Regions from separate parts of the Homo sapiens genome. Here all the other regions are linked to region 3. Evidence: promoter capture Hi-C in 16 types of primary human blood cells and fetal thymus (Javierre and others, 2016). All regions are on one chromosome and are shown on one strand. Each heading gives the region's core, a stretch centred on a gene start or on the middle of the fragment in contact. The rest is flanking DNA. Distances are from core to core; before and after follow the strand shown.

Region 1 (3,598 bases), core at 866-3,365, 650 kb before region 3:
CCGTGCCTGGGCTCCTCTCTGTTTGGGAGGATGAAGGGCTCCTCTGACTCCTGTCTTCCCTTTGGGATAAGAGCAGAGGCCTGTCCCAGCAACACGGGTACAGGAGTGGAGGACAGCTGGCCAGCTCAGATGAGTGGCTCCTTCCCTTCAGGGCCTGGCTCTCCCTCTCCCTTGGTCTGGAGAGAGGGGGAGGCTACAGATGTCCCTTTCCCTTCTTGCCCTCCCATGCCCATTCTCAGCTGCTGGCCTTTGCTCACTTTCTCTCCATCCCCTGGCCTGGACAGGAGGACACTTCACTCACACATGAATCATCCTGGATTCATGGTAGGCAACCCAGCAGCCAGGGGTGGCCTTGGGGCGTGGCGGGGGCTGGGCCAGTCGTGGACTAGGTTCTACCCGGAACCCAGATGTGTTGATGCACCTGATGCCAAATGCTACACCAAGGAGGAGCTTGTGCTGTGGAAGGCCCTGGGCCCCCGGGGGGGTGAGTGAGGAAACTGCTGGCAGTGGAGAGGGCCTGAGGAATAACTGCACAGGCAAGAGCCTCTGGACTTTTTTAGCATCAGCTGTGGAGCCACCTCCTTCTCTCCCACTGGCTGCCTCCCTGAGTCACTGCCCACCCACCAGCAAATAAAAAAGAGTGTCATCTGCTGGCCAGTGGCCCCATTTGGCCCCAGTGTTTGCATCTTTGTGCTCCTGGGTGGAAGGTGAGAGTCCGGGTAGGGTGGTCTCACGACGACAGTTTTCTGCGCCTTCCTCCTTCGGGACTCCGATTCCTTCCCTGCCCTTTGTTCTTCCCCTCCCCCCATGATGGTTCTCGCTGGTGACAAGACCCAGCCCCTGCTCCAAGGACAGAGGCAGCTGCAAGCCCTCAGGAGCCCCCACATGGCCCCATCCATCTAGACAGGTCTCTGATCCGGCTGCAGGGAGGGGACCCTCGGCTGTTCAGCTGCGACTCCTCCCTCCCCGCCCGCCCACTCAGCTGTCAACACTCGCCTCCCCGCCCTGGCCTTCCCGGGGCCCTGCCTGACTGCTAAGTCCGAGGACACCGCGCCCGGAGACCCTCACTCAGACGCAAGCAGGCGATGAGCAGGCGGCGGGGCAGACACCCCGCCTGCCCTTGAGCATCCCTAGGCCTCCTTGCCTAAATAAGGGAGCCGCAGCTGGAGCGAGCCAGCTGGCCGGGGGGAGGGGCCTGCGGCTAGGCCAGGGCTTTCCGAGGGGCTGGGCCGTGGCCGCCGCCGCAGGGCCCCGAGCCCGCCGATTGGGCGTGCAAGGCTGGCCCCGGGCTGCCGGGGGAGGGCGGGCCGCTCGCACCCGGGGATCCCCTGGTTGGAACCTCGCGCTCAGGGACCTCTCTTTGATCCTGCAGCTAGGAGGCCGCAACTGCTGTCAGAATGTCCCTCTCTGTGCAGCTCCTATGCAGAGCCCCACAGAGGGCTCTCTCTCTCTCCGTGTGTGTGTGTGTATGTGTGTGTGTGTGTGTGTGTGTGTGTGTGTGTGTATGTGTGTGTGTGTGTGTGTGTGTGTGTGTGTGTGTGTGTTGGGGCAGGGGGCGTGCCCCTTCTAAGTTTAACCCTCCCTTATTTCAGAGCTCTGCTGCTCTGGGGCCTTCAGATTGTCTTGCTTTTCCTATTTCCAGGGTCTCCCTTGACTCCGGGCTCGTCTTCGAGGGTCCAGGCGTTGCCCCGGTCACCCACAGTAGGCACTGAGCGCGTGCTGTGTATACCAAGCCAGTGCTCGGCGTGGTGGGGAACCAGGGCATAAGGACCCGCCGTTTCCCTTCAAATCAGGTTTCTTAGTCGCTAATCTGGGGTGGGGGTGGAATCCCTTCCCCCATCCCGGCCGCCTACAAGCCGGCCATGGCACCTGTCCTCACGGTTTCCCCTGCCTAAGGGTCCCTTCCCCCTCTTCTGGGCGCGCGAGTCCCAGGGGCTCCTTGGCAGAGCGAGGGGCTGGCGTTGGGGGAGCACTCGGCGCGGCTCAGCCAATGGGAAGGTCGGGCGCGCGCGGTGGGGCGGGATGGGGGGGGGAGAGGGCGGTGCTGCGGGCGCGCGGCAGGCGGGAGGGGGCCGGGAGGCGGGGGCCGGAGCCGGAGGGGCGCGCGCCGCATTAACCCTTCCGCGGCCGGGCCGAGCCGCAGGCGCTGCCCGAGCCGCGGGCGCTGGAGCGGCTGTCGGCGCGGTGGCAGGCGGGAGCCAGGAGTCCGGGGCTCGGGCGGGCGGAGCGCAGCGCGGGGACGCGGCGGAGCGGGCCCCGCGGCTCGGCGGGGGCCGGCAGACAGGTGTGCCGGCGGCGGGCGGCTCGCGCTCAGGCGGCTCCAGGCCGGGCCCGGGGTCCGGAGCGGGGAGCCGGGAGCCGAGCGAGGACCCGGCGCCCGCAGTCCAGTCTTGGCCGCGCCCGTGCTCGGCTTGGCCGCGGGGTGCGGGGACCACGGCCCGGCCGGGCCACCCGAAGCCTAGTGCTGGGCCGGGCCGGGCCGGGGTGGGTGGGGGCCCGCCCGGCCCGCCCATGGGCTCAGGATGCCGGTGCGGAGGGGCCACGTCGCGCCGCAGAACACCTTCCTGGACACCATCATCCGCAAGTTTGAGGGCCAGAGTGAGTGGGGGAGGGGGCTGAGCGGGGAGGGGGCTCTGGGGGCGGGCCGAGCTCTTCCGAGTGTGGATGGGGGGGCGTGCCCGGGCCGTGTGCGTCGGCAAGTGCGAGTCAATGGGGCCTGGTGGGCCCCAGGCTTTGGCGAGGGGACGGCGGGGGCAAGGCTTGGTGCACCGGGGCCGTGGGCACCGGGCCAAAGGGTTTGGGGTTGGGGCTTGGGGCGGGAAACTCAGCTCAGGCTTTTGGGATCGGAGTGTGTGTGACACGCTGAGTGTGCAGGGAAGGGATGTGGGATGGAGTGTGCAGGTGTCCCCAACTCTGGGTGCGTGGACGTGGATGGGGCTGTGTGCAAGGGCATAAGAGTGTGTACGACCCAAACCCTGGGATCCCGAGAGTCCAGCGCGCACACTGGTCTTGCCAGATCTTGACTGTGTTGTGCCGGAGGGACTGAAAAGCCGTGGATGCAGGGTCAGCTCATAATCTCTTCTTGTGTGTGCCGTGTGTATATAACCCTGAGCCCATGTGTCACCCGTGAGTTAGACCCTGTATGGGCGGTGGGGAGGTGTCTTTGACAAGGCTGCGAGCTTGTGGGCTCTGTGGAGACAGGGTGTCCTGGGGCTAGAGCTGGGCTTTGAGGGTAAGCAGCTCCCTGTGGTACCCCCAAGTTGTGGGTTTTCTTGCCCTGGAGACTGTCACCTAATTCCCTTATGGGGACCGGGAGTACAGCACCCCTAATGCCTGCCTGGTAGGGAGGCTTCTAGAAGGGTCCCAGATTAGGCAAATGTCCTGGGGGTGGGCAGCATTCATGTGCCTGTCCCTAAGGCTGCATGAGCCACAGTGGGTGTGACTGCCAAGGGCCCTGGGAGTTGGGAGAGGATGACATTCCTTGTCCATGACCCTGTGAGCACAGGACAACGCGTGCTTGTAACGGTGGTTGGGGGAAGGAGGGGTCAGTCCGATGGTCAGTATTGTGTGAAGCGGAGGAACAAGATGATCCTGAGGG
Region 2 (3,704 bases), core at 146-2,645, 720 kb before region 3:
TCAGCTCCTCCACCCCGCCAATCCCCACCAAAGCCCAGGGCACAGCCTACAGGTTTTTCTGTGTTTCTCTGGGAACTGCAGGAAAAGGAAATGGGCCCCTGTGGCTGTCCTCCGGGGCTGGCAGTATGTTGAAAAGGCAGAGGGAAAGCAAGCCCCCCCCACCTCCTGGCAGAGATAGGGGTCTTCTGCCCCAGAATGGTCCCACCATGGAGGACCCCCAGCCCCAGGAGCAGGGCCTCCCTGGGCCAGACCTCAGGCCTAGGGCCAGCCGGGGTCAGTGTGGCCTCACATGCTCCCCTCGGGCTGGGAGACAGAGAAAGCCCCAAGGAGGACAGCTTCCTGGGCTGCACGGAGTGGCACTGGGGGGTGGGGAGTCCATGGCTGGTAGGAAGGAAGAGGTCCCCTGGCTTTGGGGGAGCCTGTGCTGGCTAGGGAATTGTGGGTGCTGGGCAGGGACTGGTCGGCTCTCTGGGTCCCTGGCAGGATAGGTAGGGAGGTCAGCTCACCGTGGTGAAGTTCTCAGGCCCACAAGGTTGGCCACGGAAGCGACAGTCCAGCAGCATGTCATCCAGGGAGTGCCCAGCACGGGCATAGAGTTGCGCCATGTCAAAGGTGGGACTGGGCATGAAGCCGGGCGGTGCAGGGGGCCGGCCCAGGGCGCGCAGGAAGGCGGCGTGCTCTGCGGGATCCAGGCCCAGCAGCGCAGACCCAGCCCAGTGCAGGTCGTTGGGCGTTAGGCGCGAGCGGCGCAGTGGGTTGATGTTGCACAGGGTGACAGCCGGGAAGATGAGCCGGTGGCTTTCTCGCTCATCCAGGGCAGTCTGGTGGTGGAACTCCCTGTAGTAGCGCACCCTCTCAGCCACCTGGTAGAGGAAGGTGGCCACTGACAGGACCACGGCCGCTGCCCACATCCCCCGGCGCAGGCTCAGGCTGCCTGGCCCGAAGACGTGGCCCAGCCCGTGCATCGAGCAGTTGCTGGCGAACACGCGGATGTCCGAGGCTGGCCGCCGGGCCTCCTCTGGGCCTGAGGTGGGCTTCATGGCCAGAACCCAGGAGCGGAACCAGCTACAGAGGCTTGGAAGAAGCGAGAGAGAGTCAGTCAGGGGGCTAAGGAGGCTAAGATAGGATTCAGGAGGCCAGGCAAGGAGAGGAGAAGAGAGGGTGGGAGACAGCCAAGGTTGGAAGGCAGGGAGGCACTAGCCTGGCAGGATTGGAGGAGGTGATCTGGCCGGTCAGGTCCCACTGTTCCTTCCCGAGGAACAGGCGGTGGCTCCACTGGGCTAGGCACTGGGCTGGGGACTCCGCAGCAGACCAGGTGGGACGTAGCTGACCGTGGCAGGCAGGGGCTGCGGAGCGGTGCTGAGCCGGCGGTGCTGAGCCGGCGCTGCTGCAGAGGATTGGGTTTCAGCAGTAGGGGGGAAAGGGGGCCGACAGAGCAGTCTGGGGGGTAGGAGAGGTCCCTAGGGCCCCAGGCTGAGCCATTAGTGCAGCATGGAGGGGGGCATGGCTGTCCAAGACGAGAGGCGCCAGGAGGAAACCGCAGTAATCCTAGGGAGAGCTTGAGAAAAGCCCAGAGGTAGATTGGGCCTGGAGATGCCTTGGGGCCCCCTAGGCTCCCAGTTGCAACCCCTGTACACTGGCCGCGAGGGTCAGTCGCTGACCCCTGGCCTAGCTCCTCTCTCCTTTTGCCTCTGCGGCCTTCCCTCTAGCTTCACCCAGGATCTGTTCCTTCACGAATACCAGAGCTGGCTCTTGGCCAAGCTGGGAAATGGTTGGAAGGCTGGCATCAGCAGATCTCTTCTTTCTGTGCCCCTAGCATCTCAGCCTACACTGGATGGCCAGGGCACTCTTCATGTCCCACTTCCAGGGCCCGTCTGTTTCCTAAGTGTCCCTCTCTCCCTAGGGAGTCAAAGCCTACCTCCCCACACTCAGGCCTCTGAGGATGTTGGCCTCTACAATGGTTATGGGCTCACCTGCCACCCCAGGTAGAACATGGGTGCCCCACCTGCCACCCTCCCGGGTACCACGGGTACCCCACCTGCCATCTCAGGCACAACATGGGTATTCTGTGATTTCCCATCTTACGCTGCTATATCCAGGACCTGGAAAACCTACATTTTTCCAAAGGGCTGCATACCACCCATTATGTGCACATACCATAGTTTATTTAATGACTCCCCCACTGATGGGCACTGGGGGTGTCCAGTCTTTCCATTACAAACAATGTTGCCGTATCATCACACAGATGTGAACTCCCAGGACTTTGGTGGGCTTTTTTTGACCATGAGTGGTAGAAACATGGTTCCACCAGCCAAACGTGTGCACACACCATGCTGCAACTGCTGGGCCACCTGTCTGTCCTCCCAACAGGACACAAGCTTCATGGGGGCAGGGACTGTCCTCATTCCCCATCGTGGGCTCAATGGCACATGACAGGTGCTTGATTAATAAACACTTTGGAAGGACTGAGTACCATGGTTACAGCACAGGCGTACCAGCTCCCCAGAGCCACAGTGCCATGCTTTGCAAGTATTTACTGTAGATGATCCCACTCACACTCTCAAAACAGGCATTCAGCATCAAGCACAGCTAGGCTCCCACTCTCCACTGTGGAGCGAAGGCCGAGGCGAGGTTAGGAAGACGGCGCGGCTCCTGCGGTCTAGCTCTTCCAGCTGGACTAGCCAAGGGGTTTCACTGCTTCTCTAGGGGGCGGGTGAAGGGCTGGATTTAAAGAAGCCGCCCAGAAGATATAAATCTGGTGTCAGAGGCATTTTGGGCAGCCTGAGGCTGATGACTGAGTGGGTGAAGCAGGAACCACCTTGGCTGGCTGCCTGGTGAGGGAGGGGTCAGGCCAACAAGCAGGGCCCCAGCAGGGCTTGTGGACTTGCCAGCTGAGGCCCTACTCTGGGCTGCCCTAAGGAGGGGTTTAGCTGTGAACCAGCCCCAGGCTCTGCTCCTGGACCTCCACTGCTTAAAGACACAGCCTCTGATCTGTCAGGAAGTGGGATATCAAATCAGGGTGGATGTGGGCCTGGGGTTTTTGGATGGCTTGTCCCCAAAGCACCATCTAGTTCTAAACCACACCCACAAGAGCCCGTGGGTCCCACTCTGGCTCCTGCACGCAAACTTGAGCCACTGCTGCCTCTTCCAGGCTGGCCTCCCAGCAGCACCAGCTGCTCCATCAATGCACTGTATCACACCCCTGAAAGAGGGTACCACCCTTCTTTACACAGGGTAAATCCAGAATGCTTGCCTGGCTGTGAAGGTGCATTGCAGGTACCACCTCTTCTCCTGCCCAGGGGAACAGGGCACCGTGTAGTCCCACAGCCTGGATGTGGCTGGATAGGGGAAGGATCCCAGTAGGAAGTGACAGCGGCACCAACATGGGGAGGGCTGATGCATCTGCAGCAGTGCAGGGACACGAGGTCCTGCTGGGGCACCAGTTCAGCCAAGGACCTACTTGTGTGCCTTTCCAGGCCCCTCAGAAGCCAGCTGGAGCCTAGCCCCCTCATCCACAGTCTCAGGGCCACAGGCGCCCATCACTCAGGATGTCTGCCTTCCCCTTTCAAGGTGCGCCTCCCAGAACCTGCTGGGGATGCTGGCCTGTCCACAGCCGCACCCTCCTGGACCGATTCTGTACTGGATTCTGCAGTAGCTGCTCCATTTAGCTCTGTACTCGTCAGCACTGTGGGCAGGAAGCAGAG
Region 3 (3,596 bases), core at 468-2,967:
CCCGTCTTGCAAGGTGTTGTTTACCTTAGGCTATTGCTTCACAATCTTCAACCCTCGCAGGCCCGTCAGGTAGATCTGGGATTTTGTGTCATCACTGGTACAACAGTGACACCACCATGTTCTCTTCCACAGAAGTACTTTAGGATGACAGTGCAGCTGGCACTGTTGAGAGCCAACCTTGAATCCAAATGAATCTAAAACGTAAATTTTAAAAAGAAAGTCATTGATAAATTTCAGTACTTTATAACTAAGAAGTTACTTGTGGCCAGGTGTGGTGGCTCACGCCTGTAATCCTAGCACTTTGGGAAGCCAAGGTGGGTGGACTGCTTTGAACTCAGGGGGTTGAGACCAGCTTGGGCAAGATGGCGAAACCTTGTCTTTACAAAAAAAATACAAAAAAATCAGCCAGCTGTGATGGCCTGTGCCTGTGGTCCCAGCTTCTTGGCAGTCTGAGGCAGGAAGATGGCTTGAGCAGGGAAGTGGAGATTGCAGTGAGCCGTGATTGCACCACTGCATTCCAGCCTGAGCAACAGAGCCAGACCCTGTCTCAAAAAAAAGAAGTTACTTGTGACACACATCACCACAGCTGACAACACATTGGAGGCCTACAACCACAACAAGACAAGATTCCAAGGGCTTCTAAGCTGAAGCACGGCCTTTTGGGCTGCACGCCTGCCCATAGTCGATCATGTGGGCAGCAGTCAGGAAAGCGCCCTAGCCAGGCCACATGGGAAGCAGGCACATCCCTGGGAGGCAAAAGGGAAAGCGGGCCAGGCCGGGGTGACGGCAGGGCGGGGTGATGGCACAATGCATGGAGGAGACTGTGGGGAGAGCTGTTCAGGAGGTGGCCCATGCCTAAGCCTCAAGTGGAAGAGGAGGAATGATGGAGAGCGCCTCCACAGTGAGCCTCTTTCCTCATACAGGTCCATGTGGGCTATTTTGGGGCAAATCTTCAGGCAAGTTTCTAGAGAAACTGAAGGAAAACACCAGAGGGGGCTGCCCAGGTAATGCTGACAATACAGGGAGGTGAGAGGATGAGCAGATCTCAAAGGTGACTGAGAGGCAGAGGGGAGAGACAAGGAAAAACCAAAGTAAAGTGAAGTTAGGGAAACCAAGAAAAGACTTTCCAAAAGCAGTGGTCAGCGGGGTCAAAGGTCCCTTCAGTGGGCGGTACAGCAGGAAGTGGGGGAGAAGCAGGAACCGGGAATGCTGGAGGTGGGGATGGGAGGGAAAAGGCTTGGCTCTGTCCCTAAACAGAGAGAAGGTGACCTGGGAAGAGCGGGGAGGCTAACTACACAGGGAAGAGAAGCTTCCTGGAGAAAGGGATCCAGGGCACAGGCGGTGGAAGGGATTGGCCTCAAGAGACCAGGAAGAACTCTCATTTTTCCTGACAGAGAAAGTAGGATGGGTCTGGTAGCAGGCAAGTCCTGGAGTGCTGTGCAGAAGGGAAGTGAGGCAGCTTATGCCTGAGAGCCAGGCATGTTGATTGCTCACGGGGAGCCGTACATCTGTAAAGGCAGCCAGCGGCTGGCTGAGTGATCTGGCTTAGCCTGGGCTGGGAAGCACCTCCGCACACTGGCTCAAGAAATTAGACCTATTCTTCTCGCTGCTCTCACCAAGCCTTTTCCCAAGTGCGTGCCCAGAAGGAAAGCGGCCACTCTTCTACTTCTCTTGTGCCTGCAAGAGAAGTAGAACCCCACCCTGGGCATTCCATGATTATGCCAGGCCTTTCTCACTCCGCCCAGTCCCTCTCCAGCCCCTCTGCTCTCAACTCCAGCACTGCAGGGGGACAGAGTGTCTACTCCACCCCCACCAGGCAGGGGATTTTAAGCACCTGCTGGGCCCTCAAGTCTCATCTTCCTCCACAACATCTGTGAGAAGATTGAAAGGTGGTGAGAGAAAGGGATAGGAGGAGATGAACGTGTGAAAGGAAAAGAGGAGAGCAAGCCATTGCATGTTTTGGGGTTTTGTCCCACACGCAAATTTGACTACTTATAAAGTCTAAGCAAGATGTTTTAAATAATAATCATGCATCATTAGGTTTCATACTGTGCAAAAAAAATGACACAAAGTGAGATCTGTTACAAACGACACGGCAGCACTCTGCTACTTTCTGGAAGCTTAGGGCTAACAATGGAGTCAGAGCATGGCATCCAGAGCCCGTCTCTGAGCACGGCCGTGATCCTGCTCCAGCACACGCCTCGGTTTCCTCGTCTACATTACGGGAATAGTAACAGCACCCGCCTCATGAGATTGTTAGTGTTAAACGAGTTAATTAATACCACAGTATTTCAGGGCAGTTCTCGGCACAGAGGGAGAGATGGGTAAGGGCTGGCTGTTCCGGAAGATTCTGGCCTCTCCCAGTGTGTTTCGGCGCGAGGGCACCGCTGGCCCAGCAGGTGGCCCCCCGGGGCCGGCACGGGCCCCGACAGCCGCCCCCTTCCCTGAACCTCGGCGGCCCAGTCCCCGCTTACCTGAGGGGTGGAGCCGGCAGCCTGCGGAGCCACTGGCCAAGCTGGGAAGTCCGGCGCAACTCCGCACCGCAGAGCCGGCGCCTCCTCGGCAGGTAAGAGCCGCAGCCCCGCCGCCCGCCGCCTGGCGGCCCCTGACCCCTGGGCCGCGTGCCCACCACCCAACTTGTTGGCCAGCGTGCTTCTCCCAGCGCCGCAGGCCTGAGCTCCCGGAACGCGCCCAGGGGGCCTGGCCAAAGGCCGTAGTGGGCGCTCTGGATTCCGGGATGCGCCAGGGGTTACTTCCGGAAGCGCAGCCTGCGGGGGTCTTCGCGCGCACCCCCCGCCTCGCAGTTGGTACGTTCCTCCTACCTGCGGTGCCTGAGTGCGCAGGCGTGGGCAGCGAGGCGGTGCGGCCGGAAGCGAAGGGGCCGTGAGGTCAACAGTCGGTAATCGTTTATCGGTGCGGCCTTAGAGAAAGGACCTCCAAGCCCTTGTTCAATACATGTTGGGTGGTGGTCACAGGTGCCAGTCTCCGGACGGATGGCGGCCTAGATTTCCTCCCGGACTCGGTGGCACCCAAGGCCCCCTGCACGCCGGCGCTGTGCGTGCCAGGCTGACCGCCCGAGTGCGACCCGGACCTCGTCCGCACGTGCAGATGGAAGGGGCCACAAAGACGATAAGGATCCAGGTCTCCCGCGTGGAAGGCTCATCTATCGGTCGGTTCAGGAAATCCACCCAGGGTGTCTCCTGGTGTTATCAGAAAGGGGTCCCGATCCAGGCCCTAAGAGAGGGTTCTTGGATCTCATGCAAGAAAGAATTCAGGGCAAGCCCATAGAGTAAAGTGAAAACAAGTTTATTAAGAAAGCAAAGAAGTAAAAGGATGGCTACTCCATAGGCAGAGCAGCTCCAGGGCTACTGGTTACCCATTTTTTGGTTATTTCTTGATTATATGCTAAACAAGGGTTGAATTATTCATGAGTTTCAGAGAAAGGGGTGGGCAGTTCCCGGAACTGAGGCTTCCTCCCCTTTTTAGACCATATAGAGTATTTCATGATGGTGTCATGGCGTCTGTAAACTGTCATGGTGCTTGCTGGTGGGAGTGTCTTTTAGCATGCTAATGCATTATAATTAGTGCATAATGAG

The links. Contacts are between HindIII fragments. The CHiCAGO score rates a contact against its expected background, and 5 or more counts as called.
Region 1: the fragment with the promoter of KCNH2 here is called in contact with a fragment that was not itself captured in region 3 in 2 of 17 cell types (naive CD4 T cells and non-activated CD4 T cells); the score reaches 5.2 in naive CD4 T cells.
Region 2: the fragment with the promoter of ASIC3 here is called in contact with a fragment that was not itself captured in region 3 in 1 of 17 cell types (non-activated CD4 T cells); the score reaches 7.1 in non-activated CD4 T cells.

What each region holds. Positions count from the first base shown.
Region 1 is chr7:150,976,838-150,980,435 of GRCh38, reverse strand. It overlaps KCNH2 (potassium voltage-gated channel subfamily H member 2), which reads left to right and starts at 2,115. Exons shown (of 15, transcript NM_000238.4): 1 at 2,115-2,598. The coding sequence starts at 2,523. It overlaps LOC124901776 (a long non-coding RNA gene), which reads right to left. Exons shown (of 3, transcript XR_007060592.1): 3 at 3,081-3,591. RefSeq lists a silencer at 1,098-1,447. The HindIII fragment of the contact is 24,052 bases long and covers 1-3,598 here.
Region 2 is chr7:151,046,222-151,049,925 of GRCh38, reverse strand. ASIC3 (acid sensing ion channel subunit 3) reads right to left here and starts at 1,395. Exons shown (of 11, transcript NM_004769.4): 1 at 507-1,395. The coding sequence starts at 1,040. It overlaps ABCB8 (ATP binding cassette subfamily B member 8), which reads right to left. Exons shown (of 16, transcript NM_007188.5): 16 at 2,144-3,704. The HindIII fragment of the contact is 11,911 bases long and covers 1-2,380 here.
Region 3 is chr7:150,322,439-150,326,034 of GRCh38, reverse strand. It overlaps ACTR3C (actin related protein 3C), which reads left to right and starts at 2,490. Exons shown (of 8, transcript NM_001164458.2): 1 at 2,490-2,566. It overlaps LRRC61 (leucine rich repeat containing 61), which reads right to left and starts at 2,680. Exons shown (of 3, transcript NM_001142928.2): 1 at 2,475-2,680; 2 at 25-194. RefSeq lists enhancers at 1,851-1,920, 3,241-3,300, 3,351-3,460 and a silencer at 2,311-2,630. The HindIII fragment of the contact is 811 bases long and covers 1,312-2,122 here.